4 separate regions of the Homo sapiens genome follow, and all the other regions are linked to region 4. Evidence: promoter capture Hi-C in 16 types of primary human blood cells and fetal thymus (Javierre and others, 2016). All regions are on one chromosome and are shown on one strand. The core of a region is centred on a gene start or on the middle of the fragment in contact, and the rest is flanking DNA. Distances in the headings are between cores, read along the strand shown. Region 1 overlaps ADARB1 (adenosine deaminase RNA specific B1). Region 2 overlaps LINC02575 (long intergenic non-protein coding RNA 2575). Region 3 overlaps CFAP410 (cilia and flagella associated protein 410). Region 4 holds the start of UBE2G2 (ubiquitin conjugating enzyme E2 G2).

Evidence for each region. Contacts are between HindIII fragments. The CHiCAGO score rates a contact against its expected background, and 5 or more counts as called.
Region 1: a fragment that was not itself captured here is called in contact with the fragment with the promoter of UBE2G2 in region 4 in 1 of 17 cell types (megakaryocytes); the score reaches 5.8 in megakaryocytes.
Region 2: a fragment that was not itself captured here is called in contact with the fragment with the promoter of UBE2G2 in region 4 in 1 of 17 cell types (naive CD8 T cells); the score reaches 5.0 in naive CD8 T cells.
Region 3: a contact is called between a fragment that was not itself captured here and the fragment with the promoter of UBE2G2 in region 4, in 4 of 17 cell types (total CD8 T cells, neutrophils, naive CD8 T cells and 1 more). The highest score is 7.5, in total CD8 T cells.

What each region holds. Positions count from the first base shown.
Region 1 is chr21:45,133,215-45,135,914 of GRCh38, reverse strand. All of the region lies in intron 2 of ADARB1 (adenosine deaminase RNA specific B1), which reads right to left. Among named protein-coding and RNA genes, the nearest start is that of ADARB1, 60 kb to the right of the region's middle. RefSeq lists enhancers at 1,401-1,901, 1,902-2,402. The HindIII fragment of the contact is 4,546 bases long and covers 1-2,700 here.
Region 2 is chr21:44,487,570-44,490,269 of GRCh38, reverse strand. All of the region lies in intron 1 of LINC02575 (long intergenic non-protein coding RNA 2575), which reads right to left. Among named protein-coding and RNA genes, the nearest start is that of LINC02575, 3.3 kb to the right of the region's middle. The HindIII fragment of the contact is 1,618 bases long and covers 537-2,154 here.
Region 3 is chr21:44,335,478-44,338,177 of GRCh38, reverse strand. CFAP410 (cilia and flagella associated protein 410) reads left to right here. Exons shown (of 7, transcript NM_004928.3): 2 at 511-529; 3 at 2,374-2,420. Among named protein-coding and RNA genes, the nearest start is that of CFAP410, 2.6 kb to the left of the region's middle. The HindIII fragment of the contact is 2,953 bases long and covers 1-2,700 here.
Region 4 is chr21:44,800,404-44,803,103 of GRCh38, reverse strand. UBE2G2 (ubiquitin conjugating enzyme E2 G2) reads left to right here and starts at 1,284. Exons shown (of 6, transcript NM_003343.6): 1 at 1,284-1,398. The coding sequence starts at 1,356. LINC01424 (long intergenic non-protein coding RNA 1424) reads right to left here and starts at 863. Exons shown (of 2, transcript NR_109928.1): 1 at 468-863. RefSeq lists silencers at 666-715, 1,216-1,435, 1,496-1,555 and an enhancer at 1,103-2,058. The HindIII fragment of the contact is 6,659 bases long and covers 1-2,700 here.

The DNA of each region.
Region 1 (2,700 bases), core at 62-2,561, 330 kb before region 4:
CAGCACTCAGCTTCACCCACCCCCATCACAGAGGACCCACCGGGGAGGGTGAGGGGCAGCACAGTCTCCACTGGGCCCACCTGCAGTCCAGGACCACAGGACCCACAGAGGGCCCTCTTGACTGTGGCCACACCTTTCTGCTGACATTCTACACTTCATATGTTTTTTTTCCAATTTTTCTAATACATTTCGAAATGTGGATGGCAGACTTGTCAGTTCCAGAAAGCCTTTCTCGCACTCTGCCTTCATCTTCTGAGGCCTCACTTTGCTTTTCGACCTAAATTAGGTCCTGTCTCTTCTAGTCTTTCTGCTTCATTAGGGGCTACTCTGTCTATCTACCGCTCACGGTTTTGAGGTCACCAACTCAGGACCCCGTATCTGTATGCACTGACAGGCAGGCAGCACACAGTGGTCCTGCTGAAAGCAGCAGTTTGGTCTTTTCCTCTTAAATCACTGAGTCCTCTGAGATTCCCTGGAAGGAGATATTCTCCACCTGTTTATGGTTTTAACTCCCCTCAGTATGCAGCCACACTAAGGGGTGCCAGGAGGATGCAGACAGCTGACAGTTGTTGTCATTCTGGCAGGCCGGTCAGCACACGGAGTGTGGAGGCCTCTGCCAAGGAACAGGGCGGAGGGCTCTCTCTGCCCTGTGGGTTTGAATGCAGCCAAAGCATCTTGGGATCTGGAAATCCTACCCAGCACACAGTCCTCCATGAGAACTTCCAATTCCAGAATTAGTAGAACTGGCAATCCAGACAAGGCCCCATCAGCAAGCAGGCCCCTTAGAGCAGGTCTGCCCATTTCTATAAACCTTTGGCTTTGCAGACCACTTATGGTCTCTGTTGCAGATTCTTCCTTTTCTGTTTGTTTTATAACTCCTTAAAAATGTAAAAACCATCCTTAGCTTTCAGGTCCCAGAATCTGCTCACAGGCTACAGCCTGCCAGTCCCTGCCCCAGGAGACCCACCTGGGCATCTGCAGAGGTGGCTCTGCCCAGGCAGCAGGGGACTCACCCAGCTGTCAACGGCAGCCAGGGGTGTGGTGCTGGGTGCCCCTGACCACAAATGCCATCACCCACTGACCTGGCTGGCAAGGCGTCTTCATCCTCGGGATCTTCATCACTCATGGGCCTGGCCTCTAGGGGGTCCTCAATGCTCGCTGGATGAATGAGGGTGTGCTCATTGGCCATTTCAATTTCATCTTGTGTAAAAAAAAAAAAAAAAAATCTGTGCAAGTCTTTTGCCCCAAATTCTACTGTACTGCCTTGTCCATAGGGATCTGTAGGATTCTTCATGTACTATGGACCCTGAACACTAAGCCACGCCTCTGTCAGGCATATGCCTCTGCTGGGCGCACACACCTCTGCCAGGTGCACACACCCATGTCAGACACACACACACGTCAGGCACACACACCCCGAGTGTACGTACCCCTGCCGGGCGCTCACACACCCATGTCAGACACACTCCTGTCAGGCGCACACACCCGTCGGGCGCACACACCACTGTCGGGCACACACACCCATCGGGCGCACACACCACTGTCGGGCACACACCCCCGTCGGGCGCACACACCACTGTCGGGCACACACCCGGCGGGCGCACACACCACTGTCGGGCACACACCCCCGTCGGGTGCACACACCACTGTCGGGCACACACCACTGTCGGGCACACACCCGGCGGGCGCACACACCACTGTCGGGCACACACACCCATCGGGCGCACACACCACTGTTGGGCACACACCCAGCGGGCGCACACACCACTGTCGGGCACACACCCCCGTCGGGCGCACACACCACTGTCGGGCACACACCACTGTCGGGCACACACCCGGCGGGCGCACACACCACTGTCGGGCACACACACCCATCGGGCGCACACACCACTGTCGGGCACACACACCCGTCGGGCGCACACACCAGTCGGGCACACACCCCCGTCGGGCGCACACACCACTGTCGGGCACACACCCCCGTCGGGCGCACACACCACTGTCGGGCACACACCCCCGTCGGGCGCACACACCACTGTCGGGCACACACCCCCGTCGGGCGCACACCCGGCGGGCGCACACACCACTGTCGGGCACACACACCCATCGGGCGCACACACCACTGTCGGGCACACACACCCATCGGGCGCACACACCGTCGGGCACACACCCGGTGGGCGCACACACCACTGTCGAGCATACACCCATCGGTCGCACACACCGTCGGGCACACACCTCTTTCAGGTACACACCTGTCAGGTACAGGTAAGACAAATTCTTTTCTCAGTCAGTGCAGTGTTAGCATCCTGCCCCTGGGGTACACACCTTGTACACTCCCCTGCCTTGCAGGCGGGAGGAACTGTGAACATGATGGGATATAGTGTTACATAAGGCAAAGGTGAAGGGATTTTACAGATGCAATTAAGGCATCTCATCAGCTGACTGAGTTCATCAAAAGGGAGATTTTCCTGGGTGGGCCTGGCCTGATCAGGTAAACCCCTGAAGGATGAGAGAAGTCAGAGAGGAAAGGAAGAGGGGAGACCCTGCCTATACGCCTTGAGAGGCAAACTGCCATGCTGGGAAGAGGGCCACAGGGCAGGGGCTATGGGCAGTCTCCAGGAGCCAAGCGCCACAGGCCTATGGTCACAAGGAACTGAGCTCTGCCAAGAGCCAGTGGGCCTGAAGAGGACCCTCAGTCAGAAG
Region 2 (2,700 bases), core at 96-2,595, 310 kb after region 4:
AAGAGATGACACTCTTCCCTTCCCCGCACTCCTGTATCATTTCCCCTCTCTGAAAACGTACATCTAACTGCTATTAGAATATGGACGATGACCTGTCTTAGCTGCTTCCCGCTGACAGGGGGCGTTGTTTTTGAGAAAACGGCAGTCAAATTCCTCCCAGAGGTCTGTCTAAGGGTTCCTAGCAAAGGGGAGTCATTATCTGAGGCTCCAGTTGCCTGTCCACTTGGAGTTTGATGGTTCTAGGCATGAGAGAAAAAAAAAAACCCAGGTTTTATAAGGTTAAGTATGCATGGGTTAAACATGTGTGTTATAAAAAGAAAGAATGTACTCCCAAAGATCACAAAGATAAGAAGTGAAATATACTAACAGCAAAGTTGCACCCTGAGCTGTTTCACCCCTGGTGCAAGAAATTAAACCTTGTACAAGAGCAAATAAACTTTAGAATGAAGTAACTATTCTTGCCATATCTTTAGCAGTTAACAGGTGCACCCTGGGAATTCTGGGGTTTGTGGACGTACACGGTGGCCACTGAAGCTTTTGTCTCTTTCCTGTGTCTCCTCTCACTGTCCTGGGCCTCCGTCTCTATTATAAAAGACTGAGGTGGCCACTTTTAGGAGGTCCTCTAATGTACTATCTGGTCCAATGGCCCAGTTTTTGCAACTTCCTCCTGATGTCAGGAGCCGCCTGAGTAATAAAGTTATGCTTTGGGATTCACTGTCCCTCAACTGAACCAGGAGAGAGAGAGGTGAGCTTTACCAAGGCCTCTCTTAGCCTTTCCTAGAAGGCGATTGGATTTTCATCAAATTCCTGGTTGATCATGGACAACTTGTTCTTAGTCTTACGTAAGCCTTCTATTACGCACACCTGAAAGTGTCTCCTCCGCCCGGCTTCCATCTCATGATTGGGGTCCCATTTACGGTCATTCACTGGTACTGCTTCTCTTCCGGTTGGATAATATTCACCCCCTTTCCTGATGCTACATGTGATGCAAAGCTCATCCCCAAATCTCTCTGCAGCTTGTAGAGTGGCCTGTTTCTCAGTGTCTATCACAGTCTGATTCAAAAGTAACATAACGTCTCTCTCCAGGAGAGTTCAACTATTTGGTTGAAATTCTAGAAAGCCTCTATATACCTATGAGGATCATCTGAAAACTTGCCCAGATCCCCCCTTAATTTACTTTAAGTCCTGTAAGGAGAAGGGGACCTGGACCTTGCTGGCCCAAATTCACCAGGCATCTGTTGGAGGAGCAAGAGTGAGACTGGGGCTTGTTTAGAGTGAGAATTTGTAGGAGGGGCCAAGTGAGAGGCTGAAGCTGGATAGGGAGGTCGGGGTGGACCCAGAGGAGCAGGGCTTGAGGGAGCTGGCCTCTCTTTCCGGGGTGCCTCTAGGACTCGTATCTTTAATTCCCTGGGCTTACCCCTTGCAGCCTTCTCTGAGATGGCAAACAGGAGGGCTGGATGAATCCTACACTGTCGGCAAGGTCTGGATTTCCTTGCAAGGTATAGAAAGGCCCTGCACATACGGGGCCTCAGGCCATCTGTCCTCACATCTACAGAAAAGTCTCAACAGCCGAATGGTATGGAAATGAATGATTCCTTCCTAGGGCCAACCCAGTCCTTCATAATTTGGCCAAACCTTTGTGCAGAGGGCTCTGAGGTGTTTCTCCTGCAGATTCTGAGGGTCAAAGCAGTCCCGATGGTTCAGGGTACACTACAGAGGAGTATAAACTGGGGGTGTTGAAGAGAACTGGAGACAGTGAATAGAGAAGCCCCTCATTCTCTTCCTTCTTTCAGCGAAAACTCAGGGTGTGATGGAGAGAGAAAGCGAGCATGATCCTTTCAGTCTCCACTCCTTATCCCTGAGCCCTGGCGACCTTGGCAGGTGCCAGCCATGGGTACTAATGTGGTATGTACCCATGAAGCAGGGAAAACCTGGAGACTAGGAACGAACCGCCCTTGCCTATGCCTCCCTTTCTCCCTGCTGTCGGCAAACCTTCAGTTCCCTGGGCCTGTTTATGCCATGAAGCATGGCCTCCTTCCATAGGGTGGGGGGTTTAGTCAGCAGGAATTGGTGCTACCCATTTACATTGTGCCTGTTCCCTGGCTTTGGATCCCTCAGACCTGTTTTTTCTTTCTAAGACCTCAGCCTGAAGCTTGGAATCGAGTTTGGGACTGAAAAGATATTTTAGAGGCTGGTTCTATCTGTTGAGAGTGTCTCAAATGTGCCCTGCCAAATTTGCAGCTCTCCGCCAGCAGGGGTCGCTGGTCCTCTGCTAACTTCCCCATCAGAAACAGAGTTGGGAGGGGAGCCCTCTCACTTAGAAAAGGAAAAAAGATACAAAAATCAATTCAAGATGGATTAAAGACTTAAACGTTAGACCTAAAACCATAAAAACCCTAGAAGAAAACCTAGGCCCTACCATTCAGGACATAGGCATGGGCAAGGACTTCATGTCTAAAACACCAAAAGCAATGGCAACAAAAGCCAAAATTGACAAATGGGATCTAATTAAGCTAAAGAGCTTCTGCACAGCAAAAGAAACTACCATCAGAGGGAACAGGCAACCTACAAAATGGGAGAAAATTTTCACAACCTACTCATCTGACAAAGAGCTAATATCCAGAATCTACAATGAACTCAAACAAATGTACAAGAAAAAAACAACCCCATCAAAGAGTGGGCAAAGGACATGAACAGACA
Region 3 (2,700 bases), core at 201-2,700, 470 kb after region 4:
TTTTGGCTACAATTCCCGTGTCATTTGCTTTCAATAATGCATTTCTTTGTTTTGCATGGGGTGGTCAGTACTCCCACTAAGCTGGGAGAAACAACAACCCTGTTTCAGGCTTTTAAAGTTTGCTTCATAAGTTGCCTGTTCACCCTTTGAACTTGACCTCTTATAAAGACGCCCTTGTTTATGTCTGTCAGTGAGAGAAATGAACCTTCTGCTACTCAGGGACCATGAGGAAGAGTTCATCTTTTTGTGTCTTACAAATGGAGCAACCCTGCTGCTCCTTATCTAAAAAGTACCACCCCAACGTCAAACATACAGTTTAGTTGAAAATCAGCTAAAACAATTGTTTACACCTTTGCCAGTTATCTGGGCAACCTTCCTTTTTTGCCATGCCATTAAAATCCTAGAATCTTAAGGTTTGTAGGGAGTCATCGGTGATTTTTGGAATTTTTGTCTTCAGTGTTTTTTATTCAACTTTAACAAAATTAAAGTATGTATCTTTTCTCTCCCCAGGGGCAGCCGCCTCACAGATGTAAGTATTGCCTCACAGATGTAAGTATTGCACTGATCATCTCCAAATAGCCTCAACCCAAATGTTGTAGCTTCTTTCCCAAGAGAATTTTTAAGTTGACAAAACTGCACCTATCAATTCAGTCCCACACTTGGTACTTTGTTCACTTAGCGGTTTTCATTCTGCAGAACCACTAATGGAAAAACAATTCTCTAGTGCCAGGCTTATTTTGCAGTTCCCGTCAACATCCCTATAAATGAAACACCCTTTGTCACTTGGTCGCAGAGGAGGGGAGCAATAGTTTGGAACTTGCTCTCACCTGGAAAGGAATCCCAGGAGGGCTTGTTTTACTTTGTTACGGGGAAGTTGAAGGTCTACACCCCCTCTTCTTGGTCACATCTAGCCTTGTACCCCCTTGCCGCTGCCCCAAAGGCAGGCAGAGAATAAGCCCTGCTGGGAGAACTTGAGTGTGTGCGTCTGTGAAAGATTTTTTTCTTCTCTCCCTCATTGTCTTTCTCAGTCCAAAATGTCCCCAACTTACACAGGGATCGCATACCAATTGTTTCTTTCTTTTTTTTTTTTTTTTACACGGAGTCTCTCTCTGTTGCCCAGGCTGGAGTACAGTGGCACGATCTTGGCTCACTGCAACCTCTGCCTCCCGGGTTCAAGCAATTTTCCTGCCTCAGCCTTTGAGTAGCTGGGACTACAGGCACCCACCACCATGCCTGGCTAATTTTTGTACTTTTTAGTAGAGATGGAGTTTCACTGTGTCGGCCAGGCTGGTCTCAAACCCCCTGAGTTCAGGTGATCCACCTGCCTCAGCCTCGCAAAGTATTGGAATTACAGGTATGAGCCACCATGTCCAGCGCAATTATTTATCTCTTTATTTTCCTTTGTTTTTTTAATTTGAACTGTACCTTTTCTTAAAGACAAAAAAAAGCCTGGATACGTGGCATCTGGGTGTAATCTGTTTTGTGCTGTAACTGAAATACTGCATGTTTAGCAGTGAATATACAAACGTACCATGTCCATAGACACGAGTCACTTATACATGGGACGCATCTGACCAGGCTGTGAGCTGCTGGTGCCATGCCTGGCGTATGGTGGGCTCTCACATATGTGGGAGCTTTGCAGGTTGTGAGGCTTTGTGGACCACCCCGGGCACCTCACCCCTGAATTGACAGTACCAATGTGATCTGAGATCCAGTCTCAAGCCTGTCTTCCTTTTGGCCTAGACCTGTTATCAAGAAGGGATTTCCATCCTTTCCTTGCTTTCTATCCCTGCGTAGGGGACATTGGGGTCCCCTTACCTGATGTCCTTTGAGGGCATCTAAAGTAATGAATGCTCTGTCTCCACTGCTGGCAGCATCTGACAGCAACGATGCTGTCGTAAAATTTAATAAAGACAGAGTGCGTGCAAGGAGGAGCCTCACATTTCTCCTTCAGTCTGCGGGGCGTCTGGGCTGCAAGGTGGTGTCAGAGGAGAACCTGGCATACTCGTGGGCATTCATCCTGGGCACACTGGCTGAGCAGGGCCGCTCCCCTCAGGCCCTGGGCATTCACCCTGGGCACACTGGCTGAGCAGGGCCGCTCCCCTCAGGCCCTGGGCATTCACCCTGGGCACACTGGCTGAGCAGGGCCGCTCCCCTCAGGCCCTGGGCATTCACCCTGGGCACACTGGCTGAGCAGGGCCGCTCCCCTCAGGCCCTGGGCATTCACCCTGGGCACACTGGCTGAGTAAGGCCGTGCCCCTCAGGCCCCGGAAGTGGGTTGGCCGTGGCTTCGACAGTTCTCTGTGGCTGATGGCAGTGCGGCCGCGATGCCCTGCTGTGCCATGCTTGCTAGTCATGTTCTTTTCCTCCTAGATCTCCATTTGCCAGGAGATGCCCAGCCTGGAGGTGATCACGCTCAGGTACCTCGCTCCTGCTGTCATGCTCAGCCTGGGGCCTGGAAGCCGGGGCAGAGCCTCACGTCCCTCCAGTGGGACCCAGCACTGTGACATAACCTGGAAACCTCCAACACAGACTGAGGGCGGCTTCCAGAAGGGGAGGGGCCGGGACAGCGAGAGCTGGGCCTACCCTGTGGCCCCCATGTTCAGCCCTCCTTCCTCAGAGCCTCACCTGGGCCTCCTGATGGCTCCTGTCCCCTGCCTGCCCTGCTGTACGCCTGCCCACCCTTGGCCTGTGTGCTCC
Region 4 (2,700 bases), core at 35-2,534:
GAAGGCCGGGTGGTGACGGCCTAGGCCACACTGAAGAGGCAACATTTGAGCAAAGACTGAAAGAGCAGGTGGGAAGAGTCGGGGACAAGAGCCGCCAGAAAGTGTTTCCGGGGAGGGAAGAGTCAGGGACTCTGAACCAGGCCAGGGCAGCTGGAGTGGAGTGAGAGGGAGGGAGGGTCTGGGAGTATGGCGGGGTGACCGGAGGCAGAGCAAAGCACTGCAGGACTTCAGCTTTACTGAGTGAAATGGGCGGAGCAGAGTGTGAATGTGATCAGACTTCTTTTCAAGGGATCATCTGCAATGCTGGAAAGGAAAAGACAAATGATAGATTATTGCAACAAACAGCCAGGCAAGAGATGCAAACTTTTTTTGCAAAGGTGTGTGTGTATATACATCCTTGCACCGGACAGCCACGAAGCACCTACTGTGCTGTGAAGTCAGTAAGGATGTGGGTTAAAATCGCTCACCTCACAGCGGGTCAATCGGGAAAGCACACCCACTCACTACAGCCATTATGGGAAAAAGGGCTCGCCCCTTACAGGATCCTCAACTGTGGAGAGGCCGGGAGCCCACGCGGGGCGCTGGGGAGTCTCTCAGCACCCCAGGGGTTCGGGCAGGGACCTGAGCCGCGCCCTCTCTCCCGGGGGTGCCCTGGGGTCGAGGCTGCTCGGCAGAGCCGGCGGTCAGTTCGAGCCGCGGGCCCGAACAGGGCTCTCCCCGCGGCTCTCTCCCTCGGAGTAGAAGGTGCTGGACCCGAACTCCAGCGGAGCCGCACAACACGTGGAGGAAAAGCGCCAGGACAGCTAACCTTCCCACCTTTTCAAACCTGAAACCCGGCCGGCTGGGGACGGTTGGAATGTTCAGTGCGTACCCGCACCTCAGGCCCCTTGTCTCCAGCCCCAGACCGCCCCGCGACCATCCTCCCCACCCCCCGACCTCTTATCTCGTCCCCGCCCTGTCTCCCCAACCTCCATCCTCCCCTCCACAACCCCCGTCCTCCCGCCCTTCGGCCACGCGCGGCTGGCACAGAACAGGCAGTTAGCGCACACACACTGGAACAGGCGCCACCGTTCAGGAAGTCTCTACAAGACCAGGACCCTGAGGCCTCTGGAAGTGCCGGGACCGAACCAACCCCGCAGAGCGACTAAGGCGAGGGCAGGAGCCAAGAGAATCGTAGCCGCGGTCGCGGGTTGAGCTCCCACCACCCGGACAGCGCGCCTCGGCGATCGCGCACGCGCCACGCCCCGGAAGAGTTCCTGGGCCCGCGACGGTGGCCCGGAAGCAGTCCCCGGTGTCGGGGCAGGAGGCACGCGCGCGGCTGAGGCGAGGTCGCTCGGCGCAGCTGTTGCGGGGCCATGGCGGGGACCGCGCTCAAGAGGCTGATGGCCGAGTACAAACGTGAGTCTGGGGACCCGGGCCGTCAGCAGCGTCCCGCGTTCCTGCTCCCGGGCCCGCGTCGTCCGGCGGGGCTGGGGCAGGGAGCCTGGCGGGGGAGCCGGGCCCGGGGCCTCCACCGTGAGCCCCCCTGTGGGTCCCGCGGAGTGCCGCGCCCTGCGCCCGCTGCCCACTCTCACGCGTGAAGTCGTGAAGAGAAGCCTTCCCAGCATCAGTAAAGGCAGCGCCGGCGCCGTGTTAGTTGAGAGCACACACAGTTGAGTCTTTGCGGGCTTGTTTTTTTCTCTTCTATTTTTTCTTTTCTTGGCAGCCTTGAGAACGTGCAGTGAGAGCTTGAGGAAGAAGGCCTGACTTGCTGCTGCGGAATTAGGAGGGAAAAGTGTATGCGTTAAAAGGGGAAAGGCTCGTTGGTGGAGCTTTGAAAGGTCAGATTTTGGCTTTCCCTCTAATGAAGGAAAAGGGTTTTTGAACAGTGCCACCTGTCACTCCTCCTAGGTAGTGTTGAGGAAACCTCTTGAGTGCTTTCCTACCCGGTAAATTAGATATTTCTAATGTCTGAGGAGAGCGAAGGGAGAAATGAGAACCTAGGAACACTCGGCATTCCATCGTTTTACACCGAATGCCCGCTTGGAAGAACTGCTGCGAGAAGTCTTGGAATACCATTGTGTTGAAAGCGCCAGGAGCCTGAGTCGCCGATGGAGACGAGATAGTAGCCGGCTAAGAGCAGGGCCTGAGTTCAGACCCGGCCTCTCTGCTTGTTAGCTCTTTGACCTTGTTCCTCTCTCTGTCTCTGCAGTTTCCTTGTCTTAAAAGGTTAAACTTGATACTGCAGGTGAAGTGCTTAGCAAAATACCTGATGTGTAACCCTTAATAAAGTTAGCTGCTGCTTTTGTAATTAGATTGAGGATAATTTTGGAAGAAAGTTAAGCTAAAAGAATGAATGTGAGAAAAAAAATAAGTGGTGAATATACATGTAGCTTGATTTCGTAAAACTATTGGTGACACCGCCCAGTAAGAGTTGATGTTTGGCTTAAGCAGACCAAAACGTTGCAAATACAGGCTCACTCACGTATGGTCATTCTTCCCTTGGTATCTGGAGGGGATTGGTTCCAGGCCCCGCTGCAGATACCAGAATCCTCGGATGCTCAAGTCCCTACTATAAGGTGGCGTGGTATTTGCATTTAATGTATGCATAGCCTCTCATAACTTTTAAATCATCTCAAGGTTACTTATAGTACCTAATGCAATGTAAGTGCTGCACAAATAGTTACACTGATTTTTTTTACTTGTATTTTTAAATCGTCA